Linked DNA regions of Homo sapiens: all the other regions are linked to region 1. The links are contacts of gene promoters, found by promoter capture Hi-C in blood cells and fetal thymus (Javierre and others, 2016). All regions are on one chromosome and are shown on one strand. Each heading gives the region's core, a stretch centred on a gene start or on the middle of the fragment in contact. The rest is flanking DNA. Distances are from core to core; before and after follow the strand shown. Region 1 holds the start of ZNF330 (zinc finger protein 330). Region 2 overlaps USP38 (ubiquitin specific peptidase 38). Region 3 overlaps USP38 (ubiquitin specific peptidase 38).

Region 1 (3,232 bases), core at 298-2,797:
TTCTTTCACTGAGTATCTGTGAATAGTAAAGGTTCTTTGTCTTTGTCAGAATATTTATTTTGCCATCACTCTTGGTAGTGAATACTGGCAGGCACTACCCAGATCCCTCTTCCTCAATGAAAGACTTATTTCCTGAGCTGCTGAGAGTGCAGCAAGCCAACACAATCCAGCTCTTGGCCATCTTCAGGAGTCCTTTAACCCAAGGTTGCACTCTTCTCCTTTGGCAGCGTTCATCCAGTGACTAAATGTCATAGGTGTATAAAGGTCCAGCCCAGTTCCCCTAACTCAAGACAACTCTGAAGGGATATCCCAGATTCAAAACGAGGCCTTCACTGAGACGTCACTGCAGGTCAACTCTTCCCTCTGCTCAATCCTGCTTCCATTTCTCCTGCAGATGTTGTTCCCCAAAGCATTCCCTAACATACTCATTATACTCTTCTCTGACTCAGAGTATGCTTCCTGGGGAAGCCAACCTAAAACAGTTGGTGTCAGGAGTGGTTCAAGTTAGGCTAAGATGGGATTTATGATTCGAATCACAGGCCATGTGACTATCAATGAGGACCCCCTCGGTGGTAGGTGTAGGACACACAGACCTCGGCACAAGGTAACAGTGCAATAGTTACAACTTTCATCAGTAATGAAACTGGGGTGGTATTCTAACGTAACTGGGGTGGTATTCTAATTTATATACGAGTAGGTAAAATGTATCAGGCATTTGAGAACTATGAGGGAAATAGTAACCTTAATGACAGTGGCATTGACTGTTATTGCTAAGTAAAATTGATTCTTTGAAAATAGCAAAAGGCTGAGATGGTTAATTGGCTATCAAAATCTAAGAGTAAATTCCAGAAGGCCTCTTTGGTCCAAATAAAGAGGCTTTTATCTCCTGCAGGGGGAGGGCAGGAAAAGCACAGGAATAGGCCTGGTACTGAATCCTAAGTGCGGCAGAGCTCCGAAAGAGATTAGGAAACCCAGCTTGGTCGGCTATGCAAAGGTGGAGGTGCTTGATCGGAAGGAGATTCTGATGCAGGGGGAGGATCATCAGGTTTCAGTTAAAAGCAGGCAGATTACACATTAGAGGTAGAGAATGTGGGATGATTTGTTCACAAAGGAATGGAATCCAGAGGGCATAACAGAAATAAGAGACAGGGGAGGCTGGTACGGAAGTTCATCAGGCAACTGAAGGCACAGTTTGCGCAGCAACCAAGAAAAGGTGGGATGTGAGGCACGCAAGATGTAGAGGTGGGGAAAGGTTTCCAACAGAATTCAACATGAATTTGCTGTTTGAGTCAATTGATCCAGTACCAAGTCTGTGAGTTCATTTTCCTCTTCCTTTTAGATTTCTCCTTTTTCTAAAAAAGTAAAACTGAGGGGGCCTTCCCCTGCTTTCCCTCCTTCTGCTTCCCTATTTTCCCTCGCATTCCCTTCCTTTTCTGCAGATCCTCTGCTTAGGAATGGGGCATTGGCCCCCGCAGGAGTGGGCGGGGAAGGGGCGGAGCGAACAGAGGTGGGCGGCTCCCGTCCTATGACGTCAGCCGTAAGGCGCTGCTGTCGTAAAAGGACGTCCGGTCCGTCTCCTAGTGTCCGGAATCGGCTGTCAGCCTCCCTGGCTGTTAGTACCTTCTTTCCCGGAGTCCTGGTCCACGAGTTGGATTTACTGCTGTCGCGGGTGGGCCTCACGCCATTCCCTGTCCCTCGGCCCCCTGAGTGAGTCCGGTCTCCCGGCGAAAGTGAGCGAGGTTTGCCCGGAGCGCGCACGAGGTAGGGTGTCCCGCGGGCGGGTGACGGTTGCGGGTCCCCGTTGCGGGTCCCCGAGCCGCCTGGCACCTCCGCCGCTTCTCCCCTGGACGCCCCTCCGCCCCACTGGGTCCTCCAGCTCCAGGCTGGACTCCTAAAGCCGCAGTGCCCCGTGCCTGTTTCCTCATTTGGTGACACACGCAGTGCATGCAAGAAGTTGGAGTGTTACCGGAAAAGGGCTTGAACCCGTATAAGGCTGAGAAGAAGATTCACTCTTTTGAGCGTGCAGAACAAACTGGAGGGAAAAAAAAATGAGATTTAACTTTATCAGAGGATTCAGAGGATATCTCTGAGGACGCAGAAAGTTAATCCGCATGATCACCTCGTGATTATTTTCTGAGGTTCTTTGGCCAGGGCAGCACGCCCTCTAGATTTTGTCATTTTACATATTGGAATGGTGCCTTAGTGGTCTGGGCGTTACGTTACCGAAATAACCACCTATTAAATCTGGCTATTTTTCAGTTGCTACCGTACTGCTTACCACCTGTTTTGTTTTTTTTTTAATTGAGCATTCAGTTCAGAAAACTTCAGTTTAGAAAAATCTTGTATTTCAACTAAATGATGAAAATTAAACATACTCTTAAACGTAAATTTGAACCCCGTTAAAATTACATGCTCACTGCGTGTAGAGGGAAGAGCATTTGTTAAAGTCAGAGCAACTAATACCTTAAATATCTTCAGAATGTTTTGACTTTGTAGTTAATAAATAGTGTTATTTGTTGACTGTTAGATGTTTTGTTTACATATTACATAGGAAAAATTAAACTTGTTATACTTAAGGTGTTGGCAGCGTCAGGTCATCTGAATATATAGCTCAAAAAAGTGATATAAACTGGCTAAATAATGCTCTTATTAATGATTTTTTTGTTTTTGCTAATGATACATGATTCATTTGTTTTAATGAGGTGCAGAATACTTTATCATTGGAGAAACTTTTTTCTTAGTGGGAAAAGAAGACTAGTTTGTCTTTTAGGGTAAATTTTTTTGACGTTTACATTTTTAGAATCGTTAGTGCCAATAAATGCGTTAAGGATCACCCGCTTCATTTGGAATAATATGTGCTTAACGTTTCATAAGGCTTAGAATGTGCTTAACTATCGAAAGGATAGAGTTTAACATTTAACAAGAAAAAGGACACTTTGTTATACTATTTCTTAGTTTATTAAAATAGTAAATGCAGTCAGTCAATTATATCTTTTCTGTTCTCTTGTGTCAAAATAGGGGAAAATGCCTAAAAAAAAGACTGGTGCGAGGAAGAAGGCTGAGAACCGCCGAGAACGTGAAAAACAACTAAGAGCATCAAGAAGCACTATAGATTTAGCTAAACATCCATGTAATGCCTCAATGGTATCAGCTTTTTTTGATATCAGTTGGTAGTTGGAAAAACTATATACTATTTTATCTGACGTATACCTGAATAAAATTTTAGTGAAGA
Region 2 (2,965 bases), core at 299-2,798, 2.0 Mb after region 1:
CACAGAGCCAAGATGTGCTCACACATACCCTGCCTTTAGATTACATCTTTTTTATGTCCATATTTACATATATATTCACATGATTTTCTTTTAAACTAAAATTGTTTTTTAAAAAAACTGCAGTGGTTTTTTTTTTCCTTGTTAATTCAACAATTTCTCAGCTCTTTCCATTTTAGATTCCTCATGGATAGATTCATGTACATCTATCTTATTATTTAAAACTCTATATACTGTTGCATAGTATCAGTACCATAGTAGCCATTTCCTTATTGACAATCATTTAGGTTGTTTGCAGTTCTTCTATACCATAAACAGTGCTACAGTGAATACCCTCTGTACACATATGCAAGTGTGTCTCTGCTTTGCTACTCTGTATAAGTAGAATGGCCACAAAATTTTATGAGAATCACCCCAACAATAGTTGGAAGACGTGGAATAGCTGTCAAGGACTATGTTAATCACTTGTAACCATCATTGTTGGAAAAGGCCAGAAAAACAAGAATGGAAATAAAGTTTGTGTAGAGAATGGAGGGAACATACACATAACTTGTAGTTAACATGCATTTGGACTTTGGGACCACTCTTAATATCCGAATGGACATTTTAATTTTAAAAGCAAAAACCTTAATAAAAAACATTCCAGTGTTAATGTAGATAGTTATATAACACAACTGTTGTGAAAATAACCATATAAATGAAGATGTCAGTCCTTTGGCCAGGCACAGTGCCTCACACCTGTAATCCTAACACTTTAGGAGGCCGAGGTGGGCAAATCACTTGAGGCCAGGATTTCAAGACCAGCTCAGGCAACCCCCTTGGTGAAACCCCATCTCAGAAAATACAGAAATTAGCCAGTTGTGGTGATGCACAGCTGTGTAGTCCTAGCTACTCAGATGGCTGAGGAGAGAGGGTCGCTTGAGCCTAGGAGGCGAACTTTGCAGTGACCTGAAGTAATGCTGCTGCACTCCGGTCTGGGTGACAGAGCGAGACTGTGTCTCAAAAAGAAAAAAGATGTCAGTCCTTTTAACATAGTAGTTGTTGTTTTAGTAATGTATTTATGTCCTTAGTGTTTATATTTACATTTTGTATAATCAAGGTATTTATTTATTGCCACATGTATTAACATTTGGTGGAAGAGAGGCATTCACAATGTTTCCAGTGTTATAGATTAATTCATTTAATCTTCACAACAGTGCTATAAAATAAGCATGTTTATCTGTAATTTACAGGTGAGGAAACAGAGAGGTTAAATAATCTATGTAGGTATTTAGGGTCCCCTAGCTAATAAATGGTGAATTGAGCTTTTTAAACCAGTCACTCTGGCTTCAAAAACTCATTTTTCCCCTTTCTATTTTCTTAGTATATAATCCCAAAAATAGGACTACTAGGTCAAATTATATGAACATTTGCTTCAGTTGCTTTCTTTTTTTTTTTGGAGACGGAGTCTCGCTCTGTTGTCCAGGCTGGAGTGCAGTGGCGTGATCTCGGCTCACTGCAACCTCCGCCTCCCAGGTTCAAGCCATTCTCCTGCCTCAGCCTCCCGAGTAGCTGGGATTACAGGCACGTGCCGCCATGCCTGGCTAATTTTTGTATTTTTAGTGGAGATGGGGTTTCACCCTGTTGGCCAGGCTGGTCTCGAACTTCTGACCTCTGGTGATCCAGCCGCCTTGGCTTCCCAGAGTGCTGAGATTACAGGCGTGAGCCACTGCATCTGACTTTCAGCTGCTTTCTGAAAGAGTTGTATCAATCTTCATTGTGGTAGAGATCTAACTTTAGGGAGTGTCTCTGTCCAATCCTATATTACTTTTTTTTTTTTTTTCACTAAATTGGGTAATTTAATGAGTTTTCTTTCAAGAAAAGCACTCATTAGTGCAAAATGAAGCCATTACAATATTTACAGACTTAGTGCTTTTTTATATATTTGAAGTTTCTTTTTGTTCTCTTTGTATAGTCGGATTTGAAAAAGATACCTCTTTCACAGTTCAAAATACAGTCTTTTTAAACAGTACATTTCATATTAGACTGTACTCACCAGGAAGGAGGAATCTTGGATCATATTCATATGTCTTAGTTCAGATTACATTTCAGCTGCTCTTTTTAGAGTAAATTTGCCTAATAAATTCTTGATACAGGTTGAGCATCCCAAATTTGAAATGTTTGAAAATCCAGTACTTTTTGAGTGCTGACATGATGCTCAAAGGAAATGCTCATTGGGACATTTCAGATTTCAAATTTTTGGATTTGAAATGCCCAGCCAGTAAATATGTAATGCAAATAATTGAAAATCCAAAGCACTTCTGGTTCCAGACATTTCAAATAAGGAATACTCAACCTGTGCCACTATATAGCATAAATTTTAAGTTTTGCGTTTATGCAAAATAATTTATCAGAAATTCTTTTTATGGAAATATGTTGGATATGAGAAACTGTCAGTTTACAAGATTGGAAATTCCATGAGAACAAGCACCTGTTACATTCACTTCTACATCTTGGTCAGTGCTTTTCACCAGCAAATTCAGTAAATGTTTATTCACAAAGTGAGTGATTATCTACTGTAACTCTTGTTATCACTAACTAAATGAAAATATTTTCAATAATGATTGTTTCATTTTCCTTCAATTTCAGAATGATTGACTGGCTATCCTGGCCATTGGCTCAGCATGTGGATACATGGGTAATTGCACTCCTGAAAGGACTGGCAGCTGTCCAGAAGTTTACTATTTTGATAGATGTTACTTTGCTGAAAATAGAACTGGTAAGTGGGAGTATGGAAATCTATTAGAATATATAGACTCATAAAATCAATATTTTTTTCTTTGGGTGGTATCCTTGAAAGCATCTAATTTTGAATATGTTATTGTTGTTTTGTTTTGAATAACAGTTTGAATAGGCTTTAGAAATTTTTTTAAATGTCATTTAAATATAAGTAATTAGGTTGGGCATGGTTGCTCACAACTGTAATCCC
Region 3 (3,096 bases), core at 24-2,523, 2.0 Mb after region 1:
CTTTTAATTAAAACAGGAAAAACCTGATTTGTTTACATTAAATTTGATTAGAATAGTTTATAGAAGCCACTAATATTTTTAAATAGAAATGACATTTGAAGTTAATTTAAGTAGCTATATAATGATATCCTCTGCTGCAGGCTCCATGAAGAAGAAAAGATCTTGAAAGTTCAGGCCTCACACAAGCCTTCTGAAATTCTGGAATGCAGTGAAACTTCTTTACAGGAAGTAGCTAGTAAAGCAGCAGTACTAACAGAGACCCCTCGTACAAGTGACGGTGAGAAGACTTTAATAGAAAAAATGTTTGGAGGAAAACTACGAACTCACATACGTTGTTTGAACTGCAGGAGTACCTCACAAAAAGTGGAAGCCTTTACAGATCTTTCGCTTGCCTTTTGTCCTTCCTCTTCTTTGGAAAACATGTCTGTCCAAGATCCAGCATCATCACCCAGTATACAAGATGGTGGTCTAATGCAAGCCTCTGTACCCGGTCCTTCAGAAGAACCAGTAGTTTATAATCCAACAACAGCTGCCTTCATCTGTGACTCACTTGTGAATGAAAAAACCATAGGCAGTCCTCCTAATGAGTTTTACTGTTCTGAAAACACTTCTGTCCCTAACGAATCTAACAAGATTCTTGTTAATAAAGATGTACCTCAGAAACCAGGAGGTGAAACCACACCTTCAGTAACTGACTTACTAAATTATTTTTTGGCTCCAGAGATTCTTACTGGTGATAACCAATATTATTGTGAAAACTGTGCCTCTCTGCAAAATGCTGAGAAAACTATGCAAATCACGGAGGAACCTGAATACCTTATTCTTACTCTCCTGAGATTTTCATATGATCAGAAGTATCATGTGAGAAGGAAAATTTTAGACAATGTATCACTGCCACTGGTTTTGGAGTTGCCAGTTAAAAGAATTACTTCTTTCTCTTCATTGTCAGAAAGTTGGTCTGTAGATGTTGACTTCACTGATCTTAGTGAGAACCTTGCTAAAAAATTAAAGCCTTCAGGGACTGATGAAGCTTCCTGCACAAAATTGGTGCCCTATCTATTAAGTTCCGTTGTGGTTCACTCTGGTATATCCTCTGAAAGTGGGCATTACTATTCTTATGCCAGGAATATCACAAGTACAGACTCTTCATATCAGATGTACCACCAGTCTGAGGCTCTGGCATTAGCATCCTCCCAGAGTCATTTACTAGGGAGAGATAGTCCCAGTGCAGTTTTTGAACAGGATTTGGAAAATAAGGAAATGTCAAAAGAATGGTTTTTATTTAATGACAGTAGAGTGACATTTACTTCATTTCAGTCAGTCCAGAAAATTACGAGCAGGTTTCCAAAGGACACAGCTTATGTGCTTTTGTATAAAAAACAGCATAGTACTAATGGTTTAAGTGGTAATAACCCAACCAGTGGACTCTGGATAAATGGAGACCCACCTCTACAGAAAGAACTTATGGATGCTATAACAAAAGACAATAAACTATATTTACAGGTAAGTTGGAAATACAAGCTTTATTTGTTGAAAATATTAAACAATTGACACAGTTAAATGAGTACCCTCATTTTGAAATCTAACATGAGTTTTTATTAAATTCTGAAATATAGGTCTGGATTTACATGAAGTATTCTCAACCTGTATAACTAAATTGCCTTTCTAATATTGTGACAATTTAAATGAAAAGTGGCAATTAGATGTAATGCAGAAGACTTTATTTGTTCCTTACAAAAGATGGCTCATTCTGAAATCATGCCATACAAAATACAGAAAGTTTACAAAAGTGGACATATCCTCCCTCTTCCTCTCAGCCTCACCCACCAGAGGAAATAACTGCTAAATGTGGTATTTATGCCCTCAAGACTTTTGTGTAAATGTTTTAAGGGCTGTTTATTGATATTTAGGTGGATAAGATTAAAAAACACTAAAATGTAGACTATGTAAAGAAAGGATATTCATATTCTTTGAGGATGTGGTTAGTAAAACCAAGGAGATAATAGAACAATTGTAAATCGAAGCCAAGGAATGGTTTTATATGAGATAAATTTATTCATAAATATACTTTTTTCAAGGAGTTAGTGATTTTATTACTTAAATAAAGGCTAATAAAAAGTTAAAATTCTTGCTGAAAGTATTTTTTTTTTGTTTTTGAAACTTGCTAATTTGTTCTCAACATACAGGGCTAGCAGTAAATTACAGGTGAAATTCTAGGTACATTAATTGGGTAGTCTAAGTGATTTTGAGTTTGAATGAGTACATTTTGAAAATTCTGTGTTTGAAAGTCACTCCTGAAAGATACAGATAGAATAAGAAATGAGCCACTATAGTACTGATTTTTAGAGGGAAATTTTCTCAAAAGCTTTCAAATTTACTGCGTTATAAAATACACATTTTTAAAGAAGTATAGCGATGTTCTTGAGTGACAAAAACAATAAACTTTACAGAAAAAAATAGAAAATCAGAATATTTGTTTGAACTGATTAACTACTGAAGACTCTAACATCTAGTCAGATGGCTTATGATCAACATGCTAGAAATAGAATGTATTCAACTGTGTCCTTCTTACTAGATATCATATAAACACTAGTCAGAGGAGAAATATGGGTTTTGAAAGATAAAAAACTACTCTCATTTCTGTGATTAGAATCCCAAATGCTTGTATAGCCATAGCAACCACTTGTTTGTAGCTTAGCTCCAAGTGATTTTCCAGTTTATCTTGCCTTTTACCCCATTACTTTCTGATTATACAATATTTGAGCATGAGGAGCTGTTCTTTTCATTATTATTTTAAGACTCGTATGTTACTTTATTATAAAGAAAAAGCATTATGTATTTTGTTAATTCAGTTTTTCAGTTTTGTGCAGTTGTTCTAGATTCAATCTTAAGTTTCATATTGACAAGTTGTTTGATGCAAGAAAAGATACCACCAAATTTTATATTAAGGTATTTACCTGTATTAAGACTAGGTAGTAAATCAAAGTTTCATTATCAGAGTACCCTTTTAAAGCAAAAATACAATAATAAATATTCAATTTTTTTTTTTTTTGAGACTGTCTCATTCTGTCACCCAGGCTGAAGTGCAGTGCCGTG

What was found. Contacts are between HindIII fragments. The CHiCAGO score rates a contact against its expected background, and 5 or more counts as called.
Region 2: a contact is called between a fragment that was not itself captured here and the fragment with the promoter of ZNF330 in region 1, in 2 of 17 cell types (total CD4 T cells and naive CD8 T cells). The highest score is 7.6, in total CD4 T cells.
Region 3: a contact is called between a fragment that was not itself captured here and the fragment with the promoter of ZNF330 in region 1, in 1 of 17 cell types (total CD4 T cells). The highest score is 6.3, in total CD4 T cells.

The regions. Positions count from the first base shown.
Region 1 is chr4:141,219,348-141,222,579 of GRCh38, forward strand. ZNF330 (zinc finger protein 330) reads left to right here and starts at 1,548. Exons shown (of 10, transcript NM_014487.6): 1 at 1,548-1,761; 2 at 3,019-3,144. The coding sequence starts at 3,025. RefSeq lists enhancers at 1,333-1,839, 1,840-2,344. The HindIII fragment of the contact is 10,650 bases long and covers 1-3,232 here.
Region 2 is chr4:143,193,091-143,196,055 of GRCh38, forward strand. USP38 (ubiquitin specific peptidase 38) reads left to right here. Exons shown (of 10, transcript NM_032557.6): 3 at 2,626-2,755. Among named protein-coding and RNA genes, the nearest start is that of USP38, 9.7 kb to the left of the region's middle. The HindIII fragment of the contact is 3,520 bases long and covers 1-2,965 here.
Region 3 is chr4:143,213,441-143,216,536 of GRCh38, forward strand. USP38 (ubiquitin specific peptidase 38) reads left to right here. Exons shown (of 10, transcript NM_032557.6): 9 at 141-1,503. Among named protein-coding and RNA genes, the nearest start is that of USP38, 30 kb to the left of the region's middle. The HindIII fragment of the contact is 491 bases long and covers 1,029-1,519 here.